Regions from separate parts of the Homo sapiens genome. Here region 1 is linked to region 2. The links are contacts of gene promoters, found by promoter capture Hi-C in human tissues and cell types (Jung and others, 2019). All regions are on one chromosome and are shown on one strand. Each heading gives the region's core, a stretch centred on a gene start or on the middle of the fragment in contact. The rest is flanking DNA. Distances are from core to core; before and after follow the strand shown.

What was found. Contacts are between HindIII fragments. The study calls those that stand out against the background at their distance.
Region 1: a fragment that was not itself captured here is called in contact with the fragment with the promoter of CA8 in region 2 in 3 of the 25 tissues and cell types used here (H1 embryonic stem cells, heart left ventricle and spleen).

Annotation. Positions count from the first base shown.
Region 1 is chr8:60,044,871-60,050,189 of GRCh38, forward strand. It overlaps LOC105375861 (a long non-coding RNA gene), which reads left to right and starts at 1,938. Exons shown (of 4, transcript XR_007060918.1): 1 at 1,938-2,067; 2 at 4,656-4,749. The HindIII fragment of the contact is 3,589 bases long and covers 1-3,131 here.
Region 2 is chr8:60,278,953-60,284,412 of GRCh38, forward strand. CA8 (carbonic anhydrase 8) reads right to left here and starts at 2,448. Exons shown (of 9, transcript NM_004056.6): 1 at 2,096-2,448; 2 at 737-928. The coding sequence starts at 2,195. RefSeq lists an enhancer at 1,924-2,430 and a silencer at 2,423-2,631. The HindIII fragment of the contact is 7,867 bases long and covers 1-5,460 here.

The sequences.
Region 1 (5,319 bases), core at 87-2,586, 240 kb before region 2:
CCCTTATTCAGTAGCACTAGTGTGCTTCTAAGAAGAGGAGGAGACAGCAAGAGTGCATGCACAGAGAAGAGGCCATGTGAGGACGCAGGGCGGAGGCAGCTGTCCGCAAGCCAAGGAGAAAGGTGTCACAATAAACCTAACCTGCTGACATATTGATCTCGGGCTCCCAGCCTCCAGAACTGTGACAAAATACATTTCTGTTTCTTAGGCCATTTGGTCTGTGGTATTCTGTTATGGTAGCCCAAGCAGACTAATAGTGATGGGTGAGTCTCTGTCCTCAAGGGATTCAAAACCTAGTTGTGAGAAAAATGTGTAATCCACTTTGCCTCAAGCCTCATAAGCCCAGGCCAGGCCATCCAGCAACAATACGATAGCAGCCCTGTGCCAGATGAACCTCCTTCTGCAGAGCACGGCAATCCCCGCCTGACTTAGACTTGTGCAACTAATTAAGGAAATGCTCGGGTTCTGCTGTAGCATCAAAAGTGTGCTGGCAAATCTAGCTATTCTGCACACCATGTGGTATGCTTCCCATTTGTGCTCACTACAGCCACATGAATTCCATTCGATTCTCTAAGGTCTGCTGTTGCCACAGTGTAGAAATTTCAGCCCAGCATAAAAGTACCTGGGTCACAGAGATGACCGCAGACTTCCCCTCTTCTTATGGATGACTATATGCCATGGGGAATCCTCTTTGCTCTACCCATGCCATGAATGCCTCAGTAGTTACTTCAGTAAAATAGGTGGAATAGTATCAGTCTGCAGCCTAAGCACAAAATCAGGTAGACATTTGATTTCAGTTTGAATTGCCTAGTATTTTATAAGCTAAACTTTGGAACCCATTTATCTCAAGTCTTCAGAAAAAACCTTGGGGATCTAGGCCAAAGAAACATTTGAGAAAAATACAAAAAGCTGTATTTCAATATGCCTTTTTGGCCAGGTTTTTCCCCTGGACTTTCACCCCTCAAAAGCACATTTCTTTCCTTAAGTCTCTTAGAATCCTCATGAAAATAGACGTTTGGGGTGCTGCCCCCAAATCCCTCTAAATAAGCCTGGTCATGTCTGACCTCATAACATGTGTACATCTGGGCTCCTCCTTGAGGACACACACTGGATAAAGCACATATGTATAAGGAAATATATGTGATACAGAATTGTGATGTGTATGTAGTAAAAACAGAAGCTAGTTTTTATGGAGCACATATTATGTACCCGGACTTGGTACTTTATCTGAATTTGATTCTTCAATTCCCACATATTCCCTAGATGAGAGATAATATGACTGCTCTGACCTGCAGAGGTGAGAAACATAGCTTAGACATATTAAACAACTCACCCAAAGACAGCGAAAGAACAAGGAGTCAAACCCAAGTCCCTTAACTCTGGAGGCTACACTATAACCTTACAAACTGTGCCCAACATGTACTGAAGAAGAATTACTATGAGAGGTTCAAAGCAACAAGACATTGGTGTTCCTTAGAGCAATGGTCTATTGAAGAGGTAGAACTGAAAATGGCCCTTGAAAGAGGGGTAGAGTACAAAGGTGTGGAAGCTTAACATAGGTATGGAGGATTAGAGAAGAGTCAGATTAAAATCTTTAAGAGTAAGGTTTCTATGGGATGTCAAATGTGCTGAGGACTTCAGATTTAATGCAGAGGAAGCTGCAACAGTGAAATTATAATGATCTGTCCACGAAGGCTGCTCACCCACAGGGTAAGAAACAGCAATGGTCCTAAGCTAACATGAGAGATTTCAAGCTTTCACAATGATGATGGGAGTGATGCACTCAGTAAGAGCATGTTTCACCAAGGAAGATGGCCATGCATCTTCAAAGGCTGAGGGGAACAAGCATTCTCTAATTCCCATGGAGACCTAGAAGAGTTCCTCATTGTGGAGTCATGCAAGCCCATTTCTTAGCTGGATGGGTGAAGTGTTCCCTCAGTTCACATAGACCAGGCTTCCTCTTTAGAGGCATAAGCTGTAAAACAGGAGAGTCTGTTTTAAGAGGATCTGTTTGAAGTTTAATGTAACTGAAGTCCATGCACCTGAAGCCATTAATTGATATAAGTGGTATGTACTTGTGTATATGTACGTGTGTCTCTATGTTTCTGTATGTTTATGTATGTATTTATGCATACGTGTATGCAATTGAAAAAAATCATAAACTACTCATTTTCCACTGACAGCATAGTTTAAAGATGATAGAAACTGTGTGGGCATTAGTCAGTCGTTGGAAAAGATCTCTCTCTTTTTGGAAATCTGTGGCTGAGGTAGAGAATGATGAGCAATATAAGACACCAGTTAACCTTTATACCTAGCTCTGAATTCCAAAAGAGAAATAAAGGCTGCTCAACACATTCATCTTCCTGCCTCAATTACTTGAAGTGGATAATCAGCTTAACGCTATCAGGACGATGCTGAATATGTGTTGATTTTTCTTTGTTATTGATTGCTGTGCTTTGACACACTGTTCTCGTGATTATGCGCGCAGGCACCACCTGGCACCATTGTCTACCTTCACTATTCACACATCAGGTGATCATTTTTGCGGTTTTTTTCTTCATTGCATATAGTTGCCAATGGAAATGCCTAGAACTTAAGGCATGGTTTAGTGGCTTAAATAACAGTATATGTTTTAAAGTACTATTTGGTGAAAACTAAGCAGTTTTAGACAGAAATCTTCCCTGAAATCCAATGGCCGTTTTGTTTAGAGTACATTTTACTCAAGTTGCTCACAAATGCTGCTTTACATTTTAGGTAACTCTGAAGTTTCTTAATAGGTAAATATCCAAATGTAAGTAGTAGGTGAACAATGGCACACATTCTTTGCACTAATGTATTTATGTGAGCAAGCATATATGTTTTTACATTTATTGAATAGCAATTATAATGAAAACTATTATTGTCTGCTTCCACAAAGAAGCAAATGCTTACATAGGACACTTGTTTCAGCCTCCCCACCTGTTCACCTGGCACCATGGCCCACACATAATCGAGAGCAAAGCTTGTGCCCTCTACCTAGGACACCTGAGCCAGCACCCACATTGCTCCTGCAGAGAGCACTCTGCAGACCTGGTTGTTGTCTTTGTGAGCAGTGCCCAACAAAAACAAAATCTTCCAGAAAAAACTGTCTCAACCAATCCTCTACTCTCAAGATAGAATTGCAGGGGCACATGAGCCTTCTATATCTCCATGGCTCCCATTTTATAAAAGGATCAACTGCTTTGACTGCCCATAGTCTGTTGTCCTTGAGGAACTTCACAAGCTTTTTCTTGCCCCAACCCCATTGGGGTGCTTGAGGTTTAGTGTTTTTCTGACCATAAGCCAACAAGAGCCAAGCCCCTGAGTATCCTGGAAGCCTGACTTCAGTCTTCACTAAACACATGGGTCTAGTGTTGATTTGTGCCTCCTCACCTTCTATGCAGTGTGCTCAGGACTGAGCTTCTGAAGGCCACCGTGAGCATGAGATTTCCACGTCCCACCCAACATATCCTTGCTAACATGGGTCATATGAAGTCACAACTCTCACAGTCCTTTGTAACTTGCTGACTCTCCTAGGACGGGACCACTGTACTGTTCCAACTAAGTGCCAGACTCCACAATGCCTTCTGTGACAGGCCACTTGTTCAATAGGTTAATGACAGGTCTCTAACTTGCCCTGGAGCACTGGCCCTTCAGCTGACCGCAGATGCCCTTAATTGGGAATTGTCCTTTACAATTTCTCAATCAGAGACTACAGCGATTGCTTCTTCACAGAGAAACTAGAGCCTGCTCTCTCTGCAGATGTGGCTTTACTTCAGGATTGAAGGAATGTCCCATTTAAAAGCAGAATCTGCAGAGATGAGTTACAGCTCAGGAAATAACACTATGTCATCTAAGTTAACAGAAGCATACCCGTTGTTGATATATTTAATCTAAAATGAAGATAAAAAAGGAATCTCACTGGTTGGTGTATACAACCAGTGTTGTATAAAAAATTCTGAGTACAAAAAATTCTTACTATCGTGTGCTGGTCACCAATGTTAAGGGGGCAGATGACTGCTCTAAAGTTTGCCATACTAAGAAAGAAGCCAGTGTAAAAGAAAAAGTTTCACACTATACACCTCTTCCCCACAACACACACACACACACAGCACATGCATAACAATGTTTCAGTCCTCCTAAGAATCGGCCGGGACAATAAGATTTGGACTTTAAAACAAGCTAATACTATTGCTTCTTTGCTTTATGTTTAAGAGAGATACAACCAGTGAATTGACTCATTTTTATTTTCATATAAAACTGTTTTTCTGGCACCTAAGGCTTTTGTAGACATTTATCATTTTGCTTCTCTCAGATAACACAAAAATTGATTTTTTTAGTATTCAGACCTCTTATTTTCCCCTGCATCACTTGTCAGCTTCCAAACAATCTATAACTACAAGACAAGCAATGAAAAGGGTGCATGTTCACAGTAGGCCCCATCTTGAGCTACACAACTGTGAGACACACTGAACTGCTGGTGTCCATTTGGCACTCACAATGGACCAAGGACCGGAAATTTGGGCTGCAGCTGAATTGCAAGAAAAAACATAGAAAGTAGTAAAAAAGATGTTGCCATGGGGTTTCCCTCCTTTGTCTTTTCTCCGCAAAGCATATCATCCTTTCCTCTTTTACAGAAGTAAGTCTTTGGGTTTCCGGTAGCTCTGACTCAGATTCTGCTTGCCTCTTCTCCATGAGATTACCAAGGCATCAGGGCAGAGACTCCCTGAGGTGAGCATTGGGCTTTTGCCCATGGTGGGAAGTGACTTGATCACACCAGTGCAGTCAGCTGAGGAGCGGGTGCAAGGGAGGCCAGATCTTGATATTTCTTTCTGTTAGAACATGCTATCAAATACCAAGTCACTTATTACCTGGTTAATTTATAGTATTTAGACTGCTGCAAACAAAATCAACTTCAGGTTGTATCATTCATTGTCTTCTCTTCTATCATCCTTGCTTCTGCCTTTGAGTCAGTGTCAACCTACACAATTAAACCTGCTCAGTCCCAGCAAAAGTTTTCTTACACTCTGTCTTGTAAAACTGATTTGTTTTCCCTTTTTTCTCCCCACCTCCACATTTTCCCCGAACAGAATCAAGAGCGGGGTTCATTTCCTGGTTATGTATCTTATTGGACGTGTGAACTTGTGCAAATTACATAATGTCTTTGAGCCTCAGTTTTCATGTGAGAAAAATGAAGGAAATAATGCTTGCTTCACAGAGTTGTTATGACAATCAAATAAGAAATTTCTATGTGAAAGTACTTTAATGAATGGTATAGAAGGTGCATACACCTCCCACCAG
Region 2 (5,460 bases), core at 1,198-3,697:
ATGCTATTAATGCTACATTTTTTAAAAATCTGATTTCCTCTTTCCTACGATAAAGCCAAAAACTGATTTCCTTGGTAATTACCTAACAACTTTTGCACAGAACATTTCAGATCCATCTCAAATAGGTTTGCAAGTGGTAGGAGAAGTTTCATGGGATGGAACTTAAATAAATAAATAAATAAATAAATAAAAGGAAGAGGTTTGTTTACCATTTAAATCTCTGGCTGAGTTTAGAGGCTGTTTCTTATTGTTATTAGTTAAAATTATTTTTGGCAAACTAATACAGTAGAGAAAATTAACCTGAGAAGTCTACCTTGAATGCCACGTTATGTCAATAAATTCTAATCTTTGGTTTCACAAAGTAGCAAAACAGAGAATTATGATTATCTAAGTGATTTAAGCTAATCAACAATTTTGGACAAAACGCAGATTACTGCACCTGCATGTACCTGTCCTCATATTTCACAAGGTATAAGGTGATCAAACTAAGGTTTTTCCAGTAACATCATAAGAAGCAGAACAACCGACTGATAATCTTCATAATTTCACTCTTTTGTCCTTTCAAAATTGTTTCAGAAGGTAATTCCCAAAAATGCTTTATATTATAATACAAAGGTATCCTGAAAATAGAGATACGTCAGTTGTACTTTTTAAATTGTGCAAGTTAAATCACAGTTCAATAACTCTACGCTGACTTCTAGTTTAAAAGACCACACAAACATATTTTCTAAAATACCTGATTTTGACTTCAGGATAACCTGAATGGTATGTCCATCATTGGTGACTTCACAGTCTCGGCACACCACATAATTTGGGGAGAGGCGGACATCCAACAGCGAGGGGTCATACCTAGCCTCTCTTGAGTTTAGGTTAATAGGAGACTGGTATTCCCCATTAGCATCAGGAAACACCAGACCCCACTCAACACCTAAGAACAAAATGAAATAAATTAAAAACAGGTTAAAAAATAAATTACAGTAAAATTTAACATGTAAAAACTAAACACTTAGAACCCTTGATATCATGAAGAGAGTAATGATACCATCACTATACAGATGAAATATGGTAATTCTATTTGTTTTTGCATTCATTATTTGAATGATCTGTTATTATCAAATACCATACACAAAATCCCGGACTAGCAAAATATTCTATTTGTATTTGTCAACAAAGACATAATAATTTATGATTCTAGGAAATTTGGGTCATTTTTAAGTGATTAGGAAAAAAGAATACCAGAACAATTTCTTCTGCTTATTAGTTCAATTACGTTCAGTACCTGGGAAACAGCTGTAACTTTCAACATACTTAGTGACAGTCAGAACCCTAACTCTCATGCTAGTAAATAGACGCCCCTTATCAGAAATGCAAGTGTAGTATTTTAAAGTGTGCATATGTATATATCTGTGTACATACATATTCCCATAGTCTTTCCAAATTTTTTATAATTAAAATTATATATTCTATATTGGTTTCAACATATGTAGTAAACATCAGCACTACTGGTTGGCTCTAATAGGAGCCCTAGGTCTTTAGGAATAAATCTAGGAAACTCGAGTTTTTCAGAAAGTCAACCGCTTCTCGCCAAACCCAATGATTCAGTCTGAAATTTAGGACATGTTTTAGAAAGACTTGAGCATTGCTAGCAGGCTTCACGAAAAGACCAGAGGCAGAAACACTTTCTCCCCAAAGTCTCCAAGCCAAAAACGAATTCTTCACGCTAACACTGTCTTCCTCAGGTGTTTAGTAAAATGTACCGCTGCTCTTCTTGACTACTCAGAAGACATAAAAGGTACAGCCACGGCTTGGAGGCTAGCCCGCCCTCCGGACCGCAGCAGGTGCGAACGCCAGCCCTGCGGAAGGCTCCCGGGTGAGAGCGCAGGCGGCGGAAGAGCGCAGGCGGCGAGCACGCCTCCCTGGAGCGCCTCCCGCCCGAAACGCACCAGGGGAGTGGGAAAGTGGCAGAGACCCCCGTGGGAAAGAGGGGGCGTGGGGGTGCTCGGAGCGCGCAGCGGCAGCAGGACTCGAGTCCCGCGCTCGGCGAGACACTGACGCCGCCGCGGGACCCCGGACACCCCGACTCGCGGCCACTTACCTTCCTCGTAGCCCCACTCCACACCCTCCTCTTCTTCCTCCTCATCCTCTTCCTTCTCGGGGAAGGCGACGGTATCTTCGATGAAGCTCAGGTCCGCCATGGGAAGGCCGCGGGGCCCCTCGGCGCTCTCGGCAGCAGTGCCTGCGCCTTCGCTGGGCGCGGGGCTGGAGCCGGAGCGGAGCGCGCGTGGGGGAGTGTGAGCACGCGTGAGCGGCAGTGTGAGTGCGAGAGCGCCTCCGGGTGTGAACCGCAGTGTGAGTGCAAGCAGGCGTGCGTTCGGACCGAGTGTTCCAGAGACCCGCGTGGGAAGCGCGTCCGGAGGCCCCAGCAGAGCGAGGGAGCGGCTGTGGCCTGGGGAGCGAGCGCCTGGCGAATTTTATACCCGACCGGGGCGTGTCTGGTACGCGAGGATCCGCCCCCTTCTCTCTCTGGCCGTTGGGGCCAGGGGAGCCGACAGTTAGAATGCGCCTCGGGGCGACTAGTCCCAAGTCACGGAAACCTCGGCGCATCCCCGCCCGCCCTTCCCCCGGGGTCGCCCCCGCCGCCTCCTGGCGCTTCCTCGCTGCGGCGACTCCTGCTTGGCCGCCCGAGCCTTCCTTCCAGAAGCCCGCAAGTCTCCCAAGGTCACTCGGGACCCCTGTGTGCCTGGCCTAGCCCAGAGGCTGCTCACCTATTCATTTTCATCCGTACTCCAGGAAATACCAAAAAGAAGGGGTCCTGGAGGAGAGAGATGGGCTGCCGTGGGTAGGAGAAAGGAGAGGGCTAGGAGACCCCGTAACACAATAAAAAGAGACTCTCCAGCGGAATCTTCTTAGTATCTTCTGAGTATTTACTTTTTAAATCGTCCGTTCAGCGCAGTGGAAACGAGTTTGGAAATTTTTCCAAGAAAGTTCTATTAATTCCTAAAAACGTTTAAGAAAAGAAAATGGTTGTTATCTAGAGAAGTAGCTATGATTTAGGGTTGTGTTTTTTTTTTTTTTTTTTCCAGAAAAGGGTATTGTTTCAAAGCAGGGCTAGCAGAAGGCAGTAGACAGAGGGTGTTCGCTGTCAGAGTCTGGGGCGCTGCTGCAGGCTCACCTGGCTGTGTACACAGCTCCCATTCACCTAGTGAAATCGTGTAAATAATGAAGTGCACACATTGCATAACAAACAGGAACTCTTCTGATCCAAAGAGGTGGCATTGTTACCCTTAAACGTGCTTCTCAGTCTAGTGTTAACGACTTCAGCCCTCTGTTCCTGTGCCTTTTAAAAGCCCTGGTCAGTAACCCCTAAGTAGGTTAACTCCACATTTTTAGAAGATATATGTGCACAATAAACTCGAGTTAGGACCTTAAGTACAATTTGTTTTTTATATGCTCTGGTCATTCATGAAGATATCTATTTGCACTTTGAATAACCTGTTCCTAAATCACACCAGCCTTATGAATGCATAATTCCTCAAATAAGGATGGAAATGATCCGTTTGGGAATGTTTAGTTTCAGTGCTCATATCCTTTACTGCCTGCTAAGCACCTCCACTTTTTAAAAAGACACTTCATAGCTTTTAAAAAAAAAAAATTACAAACTGCTCCAGAAAGTACACTGAGATGGAAAGAAGTGGGGGGAACCCTCAACTCGCTCAATTCTGCCACTTTCTGGAAGGTTTAACCAAATATATGGAAAACTACTGGCCAACATTAGCTTGGAGGATAACCGGTGGATTTTAAGCATTCATATAATTTCTCTTTTCCTTAACTGTGCAGAGGACTGAAACAGTTTGAGAAACTAAATTCATTTTTCACTCACTGCATTCTGGGTGTTCTTTAGTGGACGGTCGTTTGCATCTTTGCAAGCCTGGGACTGGCAGAAGCAGAAGCCTACCCCAAAGCCAGAGCTATTAAAAATAATAAGCACTACTGAAAATATTAACTACTTTTCACTGAAGGTCTTCTAAAAGGAACATTTATTTTTCCTTTCTTGAAAACTTTTTTGTAATCTTCTATTTGTTTTAAGTTTCTTTTTAGAAGTATGTTCACACGTTAATTAAATGCCACAGCTAAGGAAGCCCATACAAAGGCTATGAAGGAATTGGATAATAAAAGCACTGCCACTCTGAGCTCATCAGCAATGGCCTTTCTCCTCTGTCCCCCAAATGTGCCTAAGTATGACATTGTAGCCATTGTGTGACCACCAACTGTGTTTAAAATATCAGGTGAATCATAGAGATGTTTATCAAACCAGAGGATGGTACAATCACCATGGTAAAAAACTGAATTTTCCATGAATAAATACTGTGCCATATTTACAAAAGATAGGCTGAAAGATTGAATTATTAGTATTTACTTTTACAGTAAAAAGACAATTTTGCATATAGCCAGCAATGTATTACTATTCAAATATGCAGTTGACTACTAGCATTGGCCTATATTTGCTCCTTCTGAATTGTTCATGATTATTTGTAGAATGTAACTCCTGTATGCAAGCCTAGGGTTCCCTGTCCAGCCACATATGAGCCAATCCTCTAAGCACCCAAATATTCAATTAACAGCCTTAATTGCTTTGAGACTGTGGGGTTCAGATTTTTGCTAATTAACAGCACCTTAAGACCTTCTCTTCTCAGGTCCCTGCACTATATTACCACCAAAGATGGAATTTCTATTTCTAGTTATTATAAGGTGTCTGTCACTAAAAAAATCTAAACACACAGATCAAAGATATAGGGCAATTCTTTGTTTTACAAAATAGAACAAGCACATCTAAATCCAATACCAGAGAATCTAAAAATATTCATACTCTGTATTATGAATGTGTCTTCCACATATTCCTCTATAATTTTTAATAGGCTTTCAGCCTAATATTATATTTGATCCCTTAAATTAACTTTATATTGCTCACATTTAGTGCTTGCATAGCTAAGACCAAACCATATTAGTAGAACAATTTATTAAAACTAAGACCTATATAACTAACTACCATTTGATACTAAGAGAATATAAATAGAAATATCTAAAAGGGACAAACTAATCTAGATGTCAGAGGAACCAAAGTACTAAGGTCGCTTCCCAGAGTCCACAACCTAGACAGCCCGCTCCTGTCTTTCCTCACTGCTTGTCTACCGTACCAAAGCTTTCTTATTGTATCGGTGAGTCTAGGCCCTAGAGTCATAAATTTGACCTCCTCTTATGTGCATCTTATGCTCTGGGATCACCTCAAGGGTACAGCTAACATATGCATGTCACGTGGCTCCTATACAAACTGTAATTCATAAACTTCAACAGCAATGAATTGGGTTCCTTCATGTGCGCTGCTCTGGACTAGGCACTGTGGGAGAACCAAAAATAAAAAATAAAATACTTCTTCTGCTCTCAAGGAACTCATGGTTCTCT